Regions from separate parts of the Homo sapiens genome. Here all the other regions are linked to region 2. Evidence: promoter capture Hi-C in human tissues and cell types (Jung and others, 2019). All regions are on one chromosome and are shown on one strand. The core of a region is centred on a gene start or on the middle of the fragment in contact, and the rest is flanking DNA. Distances in the headings are between cores, read along the strand shown. Region 1 overlaps PNISR (PNN interacting serine and arginine rich protein). Region 2 holds the start of FAXC (failed axon connections homolog, metaxin like GST domain containing). Region 3 overlaps FAXC (failed axon connections homolog, metaxin like GST domain containing).

What was found. Contacts are between HindIII fragments. The study calls those that stand out against the background at their distance.
Region 1: a contact is called between a fragment that was not itself captured here and the fragment with the promoter of FAXC in region 2, in 3 of the 25 tissues and cell types used here (H1 embryonic stem cells, hippocampus and neural progenitor cells).
Region 3: a contact is called between a fragment that was not itself captured here and the fragment with the promoter of FAXC in region 2, in 2 of the 25 tissues and cell types used here (H1 embryonic stem cells and bladder).

The regions. Positions count from the first base shown.
Region 1 is chr6:99,418,972-99,423,111 of GRCh38, reverse strand. The region is part of intron 1 of PNISR (PNN interacting serine and arginine rich protein); the gene reads left to right. Among named protein-coding and RNA genes, the nearest start is that of PNISR-AS1, 3.8 kb to the left of the region's middle. The HindIII fragment of the contact is 4,413 bases long and covers 189-4,140 here.
Region 2 is chr6:99,346,749-99,351,360 of GRCh38, reverse strand. FAXC (failed axon connections homolog, metaxin like GST domain containing) reads left to right here and starts at 1,687. Exons shown (of 6, transcript NM_032511.4): 1 at 1,687-2,254. The coding sequence starts at 1,989. RefSeq lists silencers at 1,338-1,417, 1,478-1,527, 1,598-1,657 and enhancers at 2,849-3,413, 4,304-4,612. The HindIII fragment of the contact is 6,681 bases long and covers 1-4,612 here.
Region 3 is chr6:99,267,810-99,272,164 of GRCh38, reverse strand. It overlaps FAXC (failed axon connections homolog, metaxin like GST domain containing), which reads left to right. Exons shown (of 6, transcript NM_032511.4): 6 at 1-997. Among named protein-coding and RNA genes, the nearest start is that of FAXC, 80 kb to the left of the region's middle. The HindIII fragment of the contact is 5,171 bases long and covers 1-4,355 here.

The sequences.
Region 1 (4,140 bases), core at 1,146-3,645, 71 kb before region 2:
CAGACTCATCTTTTATATTTCCTGTCGCAGTCCTAGAGTCAGCTATTTCTTTAAAGATCTCTGATTCCTTTTATTGAAGAATGGTATTAAAACCAAGTTCTCGTGCCTAGGTGTGCTTGTTGCTACTAGGGTGTCATTTTGGGCGCTCTCGCTACATTTATTTTTAAATTATTATTGGGGGGGTATTTATAACCGACTCTCCAATTCTCCAGTTTTTTTTTTTTTTTTTTTTTTTGAGACAGAGTGTCACTCTGTTTCCCAGACCGGAGTGCAGTGGTGGCACAATCTTGGCTCATTGCAACCCCTGCCTCCCGGGTTCAAGTGATTCTCCTGCCTCAGCCTGCTAAGTAGCTGGGACTACAGGTATATGCCACCATGCCCAGCTAATTTCTGTATTTTCAGTAGAGTGGAGGTTTCGCCATGTTGGCCAGGCTGGTCTCGAATTCCTGGCCTCAAGTGATGAACCCACCTTGGCCTGCCAAAGTGCTGGGTTTACAGGCATGAGCCGCCATGCTTGTCCTCCACTTTTAAAATAGTCTTTTGAGCTACAAGCTGCAAGTATTTCAGTATATACTAAAATGCATGTCACATAAAGTAGCAAAATTTCTGTTTTCCGTATTTCGAATGATTACAAGATTAATTTTTACCAGTGCCATTTCCACCTAATCTGAATTAAACAAATAAATTCTTTTTTGACTTTGAGGTCAGTCAACTCATGTAAGACTGAAATGTCAGGGGTGAAGAGGATTGTTGTATTTTCTGGCTTCTCAGCTTTGTGGTTGATTTGAGAAATATTTCATCCTATGCATCAAATGATAGATGTGTTTCTGTAGCTCTTTGATTTTGTAGTTGATGCTCAAGGACTTTAAAATACCACATTTTAATTCTCATCCATCTCTGTCACAGTCTCTGAGTGACTTTTGTAAATATTAATGATTGTCATTTTGGCCACACGGGGTGGCTCATGCCTGTAGTCCCAGCACTTTGGGAGGCTGAGGAGGATGGATCATTGAGGCCAGAAGTTTGAGGATAGCCTGGGCAACATGGTGAAACTCCATCCCTACTAAAAAATACAAACATTATCCTCGCGCGGTGGCATGCACCTGTAGTCCCAGCTACTCGGGAGGCTGAGGCATGAGAATTGCTTGAACCTGGGAGGTGGAGGTTGCCGTAAGCCGAGATCACACTGCTGCATTCCAGCCTGGGCGACAGAGTGAGAATTTCTCAATAATAAATAAATGATTGTCATTTAAACAAGTTGTTTTAGGACCTCAAAGCGATGAAGTTCTAATATAGATACATTTAAGAAAAGGATAAAATAGATGATGGCCATTTCTGGTTGTATTAGTTTTCTAGGGATATTGTAGCAAATTACCACAAACTGGCTGATTTCAAACAACAGAAATTTATTCTTCCACAGTTCTGAAGGCTAACAGTGTAAAATTGAGGTTTTGGTAGGGCATGCTCTCTAATGGCTTTGTAGGGGATTCTTGTCTCTTCCTAGCTTTTGGTAGTTCTTGTCAATCCTTGATGTTCCTTGGCTTATAGAGCCATCTACTCCCAATCTGTACCACTGTGGTCATGTTACATTCTCCCTGTAAGTGTCTTATGTCTCCTTTTTAATAAGGTCCCTCCTAATCAAATATGAACTCACTGTAATTTGAATACATCTGCAAAGACCCTATTTACAAATAAGGACATACTCACAAGTATCACTTGATACTCACAAGTATCAGGAGTTAGGACTTCAGTGTATCTGTTGGATGGGGACACAATTCATTCCATAACACTGGTGATAGCTATCACTTGATTTTTTTGCGGCAGTGTGTGGTGGCTTTGATGATCTGATACAAACCTTGGTTATTCATCTTTCTGTTCTTCCCAGACCCCATTTGTTTTCCAAGGAAATAGCAGTTCACTTTACCACATGAAGGGAAATACTGTTAGGAAAGTCTTGCAGCCTTGCCCGTCATTAATCAAATTTCTCCAAACTTGAAAACCCAAGCCTAACAAGCTTTAAAATTAAGTCTAAAGGAAGAGTGAATAAATTGGAATCAATTTTTGATATTATAAAATCACAGTAGCAATATTGGAATGTCATTTTCATGGTTGAACATTAATGTATTTACTTGCTAACATTTCAGTGAATTATAAATATTTAACCACTTAACATGGACAAAACATTATGGAGAATTTAAATTATTATAAAATGTTTTCTCTCCCCTAAAGAAGATTTTTGTTTGAGCCAAGACAAAAACATGAAAATTTAATGCAGACCCTCTATAAAAAGTATTATTGTATGTCATCTTTAACTTATTAAATGAAAGCTTTCAAACAGTGGTAAAGAAGAGGGTAGCAAATGCCCATCCTTAAATTATCAACATTTTCCAAATCATTTTTAAACCAACTTGTAAATGTCATTTTTAATGGTACAACGTTATGTTATTTTGTTAAACCATAGTGAAATTTAAAATATGTATCCATTGATTACTGTGTGTTGTGCCTGTGTATTCCTTCTGTTTTCTAGATTTTGCATTTGTTGGATTTGTTAGTAGTGAAGATACTATGGTGAAGATGAAGGAAGAAAGAGTAGTGTTCCTAAATCCTTGCCATAAAATCACTAGTAATCTTACTGTTTAATTAAACAATAGTTAATGAAACTCCTTATCAAGCATTGTGCTATGTGCTGAAACATATATAAAAGTTTAAGTATTTCCTAGTTTTAAAACAAGTCTTTACTACAATCTGTCTCTTTTCTACAAAATTTTAATGTAAGTGCAAATTTTGTTTTCATGACCAGAGTTACCTGTTTTGGATAAGATTATCAAAATTTACTCTAAATCATATAAGAAAATGAGACAGAGAACATTTGCCCAATGCATGAAAAATGATGCCACTTGAGGCCTTTTCTTTTTAAGAATGCAGTTATGGGCCGGGAGCGATAGCTCACGTCTGTAATCCCAGCACTTTGGGGACTGAGGCGGGAGGATCACGAGGTCAGGAGATTGAGACCATCCTGGCTAACAGGGTGAAACCCTGTCTCCACTAAACTACAAAAAATTAGCCGGGCGTGGTAGCAGGCGCCTGTAGTCCCAGCTACTCGGGAGGCTGAGGCAGGAGAATGGTGTGAGCCTGGGAGGCAGAGCTTGCAGTGAGCCAACATCGCACCACTGCACTCCAGCCTGGGCAACAAAGCGAGACTCCATCTCAAAAAAAAAAAAGAATGCAGTTATGTATAGAAAATTACTAAATTACAAAATCTTCTCAAAACTGCCAAGCTCTAGGAATTGGAAATAGGAATCAGGTATTTTTAATCTTTATTTTATATTTTTCTGTATTCTTTTAATTATTTTATTCTGTCAATGTGTATTTTTAGAAAAAATACAGATTTTTAAAGATACAAAGAATCAAATGAAGCTAATGAACACAGTCCATAATGACTAGTACAGGCAGTACAAATTACACAAACTTCTTCAACTGTGAGACATTGGGCAAATGTCCTCTATCTCATTTTCTTATAGGATTTAGAGTAAATTTTGATAATCTTATCCAAAACAGGTAACTCTGGTCATGAAAATGAAATTTGGACTTATATTAAAATTTTGTAGAAAAGGGACAGATTGTAGTCCCTTTTTTTCGCTTAATGCAGTTTGTACGGTAATACATGCCAGTATGTAGCAGTCTACCTTATTCATTTTAATGGCTGAATAGGAATCAACTGTATGGTTCACTCTAACTTATTTAACTTGCCTTTAATTTAATGTCACTGAAACCAGATGTTTACTGTTACAAAATATGCTGCCAATTTTTGAATTATGGTATGAATATTCACATTCATGGTTTAGGACCCTGCGGTGGAATTGCTGGGTCAGAGGGATGTGCATGTACGTTTTGTTAAGATGCCATAATGGTAAATTGCCCTTTTTTTTTTTTTTTTTTTTTTTTTTTTTTTTTTTTTTGAGACGGAGTCTCGCTCTGGCACCCAGGCTGGTGGAGGGCAGTGGTGCTATCTCAGCTCACTGCGACTTCCACCTCCCGGGTTCAAGCAGTTCTCCTGCCTCAGCCTCCGGAGTAGCTGGGACTACAGGCCAGTGCCACCATGTCCGGCTAATTTTTTTGTATTTTTAATAGAGACGGGTT
Region 2 (4,612 bases), core at 438-2,937:
CACTACCAGGAAGCAGCAGTGGGCCCCTGGCCTGCATGAGTGGGTGGGGCAGGTCACTATGAGTGAGAGTGAATTGTAGTCAGTGGCTTTCTGGGATAAAAATACTACACTTCCTCTGGGTTCTAACTTGTTTTGGGCATAAGGTTTGTCAGGATTGACTCTCCCTTTTGCCTTCCATATTCTTCCACTTAAGGTAATTTATGCCCATCCCCATGTCTAGACCTAGATATGCAAATAATGTGATCCCAAATATCAAACTTATATTCTTTAAATATTGGCTCAGTGTTCACTGAGAGCAAAGACTGAGTGCTCTGTGGGAAGGGCACAGAAGGAGCATGGAGAATCCCTGGTGCCAGCCCTCCTTGTTCCCTCTTCCAGAGCACTGCAGCTTTGGTCCCAGACTTAACTACTCTGCTTCTTGCCGACAAGGCCAGGCAGCCTTCTGGCCTCTCTCCTTGAAAGACCGGCTGGTGACCACCTCAGTCACCCCAGGAGGCCGTTGGGTTTCACTCCTTGCAACCTACTTATGGGAGCCTCACTTAGAACCACACACATTACTTCTTCCTGGGAGGTCACATTTTCCCAGGAGTGTTTGGGGAGTCTCACATGCTGGTGCCTAGGCATCAGCTGACTAGCCCCTCCCCCCGTCTCGTTGAGGCGACACGTCCATATTTATTATTTATTAACAAGACGACCACACTCCTTGCCTGTTCTAAGGGGCGGGTGTGTCAGGAGAGGAAAAAAAGGGGGAGTCCTTTTGCGCCTCAATCTCTGCTCCATAGGCAAGAGCCTGGAGGTTTCTTTTACCCATCCTTCCACCTTGAGAGTGATGAACCTCCACGGCCCGAATCCTTTTTCAGTTCTTCCAAACAATTTAAAACTATCCATGCTCTTGTTAAAATCTGTGCATATATTACAAGCTTCTATTCTTTGTACTTATGAACTTTAATAAATGAAGTTAAAGGAAAAAAATACACTGAACACACACACAGTTGTTAGACAGATTTTCTAAAACAAAAGAGGGACCCCCGTCCCCCAACCGAAACCCTGTATCAGCGAGTTCCCTGATAGTGACTTCAAAGAGGAAAGACTTGAACTGGGTTTGTCAGAGAAATCTCTCTAGGTAGAGTATTTTGTTATTTGCCAAACCAGACATCTCGTCTCTGCGAACACCTGGTCAAGCCCGAGGTAATTGTGTAATGTAATAAGAGTGTTTTTATACATTATGCAAATACGCAGCGCTTTCCTGATGGCCAGAACAATCTGATTCCCGACTTTAATCCTGGCCCACGCTCCCAGCCCCCGCCTGGTGGCGTCTCCTGCCCGCAGCTCCGCGCCGCCCCAGGTGAGTCCTGCGCGTTCCCTACTCTGGGGCCCGCGGGAGGGGCTGGAGCGCAGGCGGAGGGCCGGCCGGGGTAGGGGAGGACCGGGATCCGGGCCCCGACTGCAGCTTCCTCGCGGTGGGGCCGCATTTCCAGGCACCTCCGCCGCCCTTGCCCGCGCGCGGCGAGCGGTTTTTGGGCGTGCCGCCCGGAGGCGCGGAGCCTGCCCGGCGCGCCTCAGCCCTGCAGATCCGGCCCCGGCGGAGGCGGCCGGACCGCGGAGATGCGGGGAGGGGGCAGGGCGCGGGGTAGGTGACTTTATCCCGCCTCTGTTTCCCTGCCCCGGGGAGCAATGACATCACGCGGCCTTCTCCAGGCGCCGACACAAAGAGCGGGGCGGAGAGGCAGCTGCGGGGGGAGCCGGCGGCCGCTGCTGCCGCCCAGGGCTCTGGGGCCCCGCCGGCCAGGCCCGCCGTCCGCGGCCAGTGCCCTTCCTCCTCCTCCTCCTCTGCCGCCGCCTCCTCAGTCGCCGCCGCCTCCTCAGTCGCCGCCGCCCGCGCCGCCCGCGCCCTCCGCGCGCCTCTGAGCCCGCGCCGGGCCGCGCCGGCCCCTTCCCATGCGGGCGGCGCGGGCCCTGGGAGGGGCGCCCGGAGCCAGCCGCGCAGCATGCACTGGGGGGTTGGCTTTGCTTCGTCCAGGCCGTGCGTGGTGGATCTGAGCTGGAACCAGAGCATCTCCTTCTTCGGCTGGTGGGCCGGGTCCGAGGAGCCCTTCTCCTTTTATGGGGACATCATCGCTTTCCCTTTGCAGGATTACGGTGGGATCATGGCAGGGCTGGGCTCCGATCCCTGGTGGAAGAAAACCCTTTACTTGACCGGGGGAGCTTTGCTGGCCGCAGCTGCGTATCTGCTCCACGAACTCCTGGTCATTAGGTGAGCCGGAGAGAGGGCCCCGCACAGGGGCGCAGAGAGGGGCACCTGGCTAGGGCAGGGCTGGCGCGAGAGGGGCCCGTGCCAGCCCCTCGGTCAAGCTGCCCAGATGCCCAAGCGCCCTGCAATTACCTTTCCCTAAAGGCATTTGTGGTCACCTGGCCGTGAGGGGCAGTTTAGAGTTGAAAGGAGAATTAAACCGGTGCTGGGAGGGAAAAACATTTGTCTCCCAAAATGCTCTGGGTCACTTGTCGTTATCTATTAAGAAATGGCCTTAGGAGGATCTAAGTGCAGTGTGTTTGCAACAATAGAATTGGGCCCTGCAGAAATAGGTTACACTTTTATGAAATGCCTTGTTTATAAGTAATAATGCTGGAATATTAACTGCTAACCTTATCTTTTACCTAAAGGTTAGTTCTTCCCTAAATGTCAACATCAAAAGACTGAAAAATTGCAAAAGCTCCAGAAACCTGCGGGTCCCTGTTAAAGATGCATGACCAAGTGTAGTGGTGGGCAGCTTTGATGCAGCCTTAACCTGGTTCTCTGCTTATCTGGTATTGAACGCCAAGCACCATCTTCAGGCTTAGATGTCATTGTTGTGTGAGCAGTAGGACAGGCTAGCACATGGGTGTGTTGGGCACAACACGGAGTCGCCCAGTGCCGTAAACAGTTGCATCCGCTGCCGCAGAATGTTTACAAGATTGAGTTGGAAATACCAGAAAATGGAGGCCCCTGCTGTTGGTACATCCAGCCGGGACGAGATTTTTGTTTGGGTAGAGTAATACCACAGGGCACTGAGACAGTCGTTTGGCTAATTGATACATCAATTAATGGTTAAAATTTCCATGCATTTGAGCCTTCCGTCACTGGAAGATTACCAGAAGCCCAGTTTTCAATAGCTCAGAATGTCTCTTTGCCAGTATTTTCTAAAGTGAGAGAAATGTGTCCACACTGCCTTATTCCAGTGGAGGAATCCTACACAATAGGTTATAAACAAAGACAGTGATAGGTGACCTGTACTAGCCTGCAGGGATCCCAGGAGATTATTGTGATGGCCTAATGTAGGCATTTGGCCTAACGTACATATTTTGAATAGTTCCCATCTCTGAAAGGGTGGGAAATCATTTAGGTTTGGAGAAATGTATTGGTTTTCATATTATTTAGCCATATTTGAGGAAGTTTATTTTAAGCTTGTTGCACATTTAATTCTCTCAACACATTGCCTTGAATCTAGCTGAACCAAACAAAAAAATTTAAAGAGAATTATCTCTCTAGATTATTTGTTAATTGTGCTAGTTTTAGAACTGTATTTCAAGTTAGATTTCAAGCTACCTAAAGAACTAAAACATTTGGGCAGTAATTTAAATGGTAACCCAGTTGTTTCTCAGTTGTATTCTAGTCTAAAGCCTTTGAGGAGATCCCAAACCATGAGGCTTCTCAGCAGTGGAGGGAGTGAAGGCTTCACAGGACCAAGTTTAAAACAAAGCTTAAATGACCTTGCAGAAACAGTGTGGAGCTCAGCTGCCACTCCGGAGTAGGCCCTGCCCTGGCAGGTGTTGTCACTGGAGACTGGAGAGCTCTCTGCCCACAGATAGCTACTAACTCATTTAGGGGACTATATACCTCAGCACTGGATGCTTATTTGGACTAAGGAGTTTAATCCTAGGTTGATTCACACTTTTTCTTCCTTTTTTTTTTTTTTTCTTTTGAGACTGAGTCTCGCTTTGTCGCCCATGTTGGAGTGCAGTGGCTCGATCTCAGCTCATTGCAACCTCCACCTCCCTGGTTCAAATGATTCTCCTGGCTCAGCCTCCTGAGTAGCTGGGATTACAGGCGTGCACCACCGCGTCTGGATAATTTTTGTATTTTTAGTAGAGATAGGGTTTCACCGTGTTGGCCAGGCTGCTCTTGAACTCCTGGGATCAAGCGATCCTCTGGCCTCAGTCTGCTGAGTTGCTGGGATTACAGGCATGAACCATTGCACTTGGCTAATTTTTTTTTTAACTTTTTTGTGGAGATGGGGTCTCACTATGTTGCCCAGGCTTGTCTCAAACTCCTGGCCTCAAGAAATCCTCCCTCCTTGGCCTCCCAAAGTGTTGGGTTTATAGGTGTGAGCCACCATACTTGGCCAGTTTTGTTTCTGGACAAATGTTTGAGTTGAATTAGAAAGCTCTGAAGTAATGCAAACAATAAAAAAGGGCTATTTCTGAATACTTAGTAGGATGGGCTTTGCATGTGTGACTGCATTTATTCCTCACAACTGTTGTTTGTTCATTTCATAGATAAGGAAATTGCAGCTCAGGGAGGTTAAGCAGCTTGCCCAAGATCACACAGTAAGAGTAGTAGGATCTAGATTCAAAT
Region 3 (4,355 bases), core at 561-3,060, 79 kb after region 2:
CACACACACACACACACATATAGTCTCAATTAGTTTTCATACCTCTTCAATAAAGTAATTATTGTTCCCAAATTACAGATGAAGAAAGACGTTTGGGATGATAAACTGGCATATGGTAATATGGCCATGATATGCTCAAGTCTTTAGGGTCAGAGATTCACAGCAAGATTTTGGAAATTCAAATCTTACTATGAAGTGATTCACACATGTGTATGGTAATGAACCTTAAAGGATAGCTGGGCCTATAGGCATGTCAAGATCTATAGAGACATGCAGGATGTTTCAAATTCTATCTTAAAATTTGACCAAATCTTTGGTCAAATAATAATACTGTTACTCAAATATTAGCTTTTTACCATTTAGAGCAAATTACAATCAGGTAACATTCAAAATTCTAACCCTCCCTTCCCAACATGGGAATATCTATTAAGTAGGAAATGAGAGAACCCCCTAATTTCCCATTTCAGTGATAATACTGATTGAGTATCTCTTATCTGAAGTGCTTGGGACCAGAAGTGTTTTGGATCTGGGTTTTTCTCAGATTTTGAAATATTTGCATTATACCAGTTGAGTATCCCAAAATCAAAACTGGAAATCTGAAATGATCCAATGTCCGTTTCCTTTGAGTGTCATGTTAGTGCTCAAAAAGTTTTGGATTTTGGAGCGTTTCAGATTTTGGATTTTTGGATTTGGGATGCTCGACCTGTAGTTTGGTTTTCATCTTTTTAGACTCCATTTCTCTTGACCTATAAATCCTATCAGCCCTGTTTATTAACATAGACCCTAGTCAGAAATACTTTGAAATAGATCTACATCTACTTCAACGTCAGTTGGTTCCACACCCTTCTAGAACTTGTGTGGGGTCCTGGACTTCCCGTCTGTCCTGTTAGGGAAGCTTTGCTGTCCTAGCTTTCAGGACTCATCAGAGGGAAGAGGGTCATTTACCTTTCCAATGTGCTGTGATCTCAGAGTCGTTAAAATACATGTTTTGCTGCCATTTGTACTGTTTCTTGACTCAATGTTTCATATTTCTGTTCTTCTTTCCTTTTAGAGGAGAGGCGGAACAGCTGGTCTCCCTGCTCTCTCAGAAGCTGCTTGATTTGTTTCTAGATGACGCCACTGGCAGGCACTCATTAGATCTTTCACAGCTGGGCTGGTTCCCATTAGCAACAGACTTTTCTTTTAAAAACTGTCAAGGTCAGAGCAGCTTATCCTTTGGATAAAAGTGGATTTTGGAGGAAAAAAAAAAGAGGAAAAAGAACCAGCTTCCTTCCTTACGGAATTAGCGTGTTGCTGCCCCGTATGCCTAAGAGGTCTATTTTAGTGCCAGCGTTCTTGTTATGAAGACTTAGGGGGTCGTCTCCAGTGGAGGGACTGTTCGGATTGGAGGGTTACGTTCACCTACCGCAGGGTATGTTGGGCCTGGGCAAACACACTGGGTAACCTGTGCTCAACATTATATACAGGTAAATCTGGATGAAAACAAACATGAAAGGCAGCTCCGGAAGGGCAGAGGGTTGAGGGAGGGGCTGAGTGTGGGAGGGGGCAGGCCCAGGCCCCTTCCCCACTCTACCTGTTTCCAGGCATTGATTGTATGGGGACCTGGCTACCTCCTTCTCCACTGTCACAGGCCTCCTCCCAACTTTAGCTTGGGATTTCAAAGGAAGATGGTGGAAATCCTGTGTGACTGTCAGTCAAAAGTCAAATAGTCCTGATTCACTGGTGGCACAGCTTGGGAAGGGGGGTAAGTGAGGAGGAAGTATGCAGGGCCAGATTCTACGGAAGTCATCCCTTTGGAGTGAGGAGGGTGTTTGAGCAGGGGACTAACACAATGGGAGAGTATTTAAATAAGATTCATCTGAGGACATCCTGGATATAGTCAGAGAAGAGGCCATGGCGGAACAATGAGACCTGCTGATTCCTGGGGCTCAGAGTGAAGCTAAAGGCATGCAAGGGAGAGGGGATGGTGGAGATAGGGAGAGGGAGAGAGCAGCCACATGCACAAGGAAACACTGAGGCTCCTGGGATGTGAGGAGCAGCAGTGGAGAGAGAGATGATGAAAATGAAGGTAATGCTTAGGCTCCTACCCCAGGAGACTGGGGATGTAGTGATGCTGCTGTCAGACATGGGAAATGTGGAGGAAGGGGAATGGGTTTGCAGGGAAAATGGAGTTTCGTTTTAGTCACACTGAATTTGAGGATCCAGTAACAAATCACAGGCCTAGAACTTGTGCTGGGGTAAAGTGAAGCCACAGCCTATGAAGGGATAGTTAAAGCAAATAAGCTGGAGAGCTAGAGACAGAATAAAAATTACTAGCACCTTATATTTGTATTATGTTTAATTGTCTTTAAGATATTGTAACTCCTGGAGCATGTCACTATCATTTTCTTATAAAAAATGAGGGGGCCTGTAGGTTGATCTTTAAGATACCTTCTAGCTCAAACCTCCTTCCATCCTCCCCTGAAGTTGAGTACTACTTCTCTATAAACACTAATTCTACCTCCTGCTTTGCTGATTCTCATATCAATGAAGAGTTTATTGACCAAATCAACTAATAATAGCTAACATTTACATATCACTTACCAAGTGCTAAACACTGTGTTCCTTGCAAGCTACATATATCAACTCATTGAATTCTCACAACAACAAAATAAGTGCTATCATTGTTACCATTGTCATTGTCACCATTATCACCATCATGTGGCTCCATCGTCATCACCACCATCACCATTGTCACCATCACCACCACCACCACGACCACCACCACCATCCTCACCGTCACCATCACCATCATCATCATCATCTCAACAGATTAGAAACTGAGGCAAAGTGAGGTTACATAACTCACTGGAGATCTCATGCCAAGTGAACAACAGGGCTGGGGTTTGAAAGCAAAGAGTCTAGGTTTAGGAATGTAGCTTTTACATTCTGCACAATACTAGGTCTACACCACTCTATCTCTTCTGCTATCAGACCACACAGAAGGTAGAAGGCTGTGAAGATTGGGAGGTGCTTGTGTTGAACCAGGAGTGATTTTACTTCATCAACTTTTGTTAAATCATCCTCACTTCGTAATGCAGGGTTTGCCTTCTTACAGAACCCATGCAGATCTGTATCATTGAGAGGTGAAGCCGGCTGGGCTTCTGGGTCAGGTGGGGACTTGGGGAACTTTCTGTCTAGCTAAAGGATTGTAAATGCACCAATCAGCACTCTGAGTCTAGCTAAATGTTTGTAAATGCACCAATCAGCACTCTGTAAAAACGCACCAATCAGTGCTCTGTGTCTAGCTAAAGGTTTGTAAATGCACCAATCAGTACTCTGTAAAAACGGACTAATCAGCACTCTGTAAAACGGACCAATCAGCGCTCTGTAAAATGGACCAATCAGCAGGACGTGGGCAGGGCCAAATAAGGGAAAAAATGCTGGCCACCTGAGCCAGCAGTGGCAACCCGCTAGGGTCCCCTTCCACACTGTGGAAGCTTTGTTCTTTCGCTCTTCACAATAAATCTTGCTGCTTCTCACTCTTTGTGTCCACACCGCCTTTAAGAGCTGTGACACTCACTGTGAAGGTCTGTGGCTTCACTCCTGAAATCAGCGAGACCATGAACCCACCAAGAGGAATGAACAACTCTGGACGCGCCACCTTTAAGAACTGTAACATTCACTACGAAGGTCTGCGGATTCACTCCTGAAGTCAGCGAGACCATGAACGCACCGGAAGGAATGAACAGCTCTGGACGTGCCACTTTTAAGAGCTGTAACACTCACTGTGAAGGTCTGCGGCTTCACTCCTGAACTCAGCAAGACCACAAACCCACCAGAAGGAAGAAACTCTGGACACATCTGAACATCTGAAGGAACAAACTCTGGACACACCATCTTTAAGAATTGTAACACTCACCGCGAGGGTCTGCGGCTTCATTCTTGAAGTCAGCAAGACCAAGAACCCACTGGAAGGGACCAACTCTAGACACATTTTGGTGACCCAGATGGGACTATTGCCTATCGCCAAGCAGTGAGTACCATCAGACCCCTTTCACTTGCTATTTTGTTCTATTTTTCCTTAGAATTTGGGGGCTAAATACCAGGCACCTGTTAAAAGCTGGCCAGTTAAAAGCGACTAGCACGGCCACCAGACTTAAGACATGGTTGTCAGGCTTTCTGGGAAAGGGCTCTCTAACAACCCCCGACTCTTTGGAATTGGGAGTGTTGGTTTGCCTGGAACCAGCTTCCGCTTTTCCTGTACTTCTGGGCTGAGCCAAGGGTTGGCAGAGACAAAAGCCATTCAGCTCTGGGGTCCCGACAACAAGTTGGTTGACCCTGCAGCCATGAGCAGAACTCTCAAAGTCATGTCG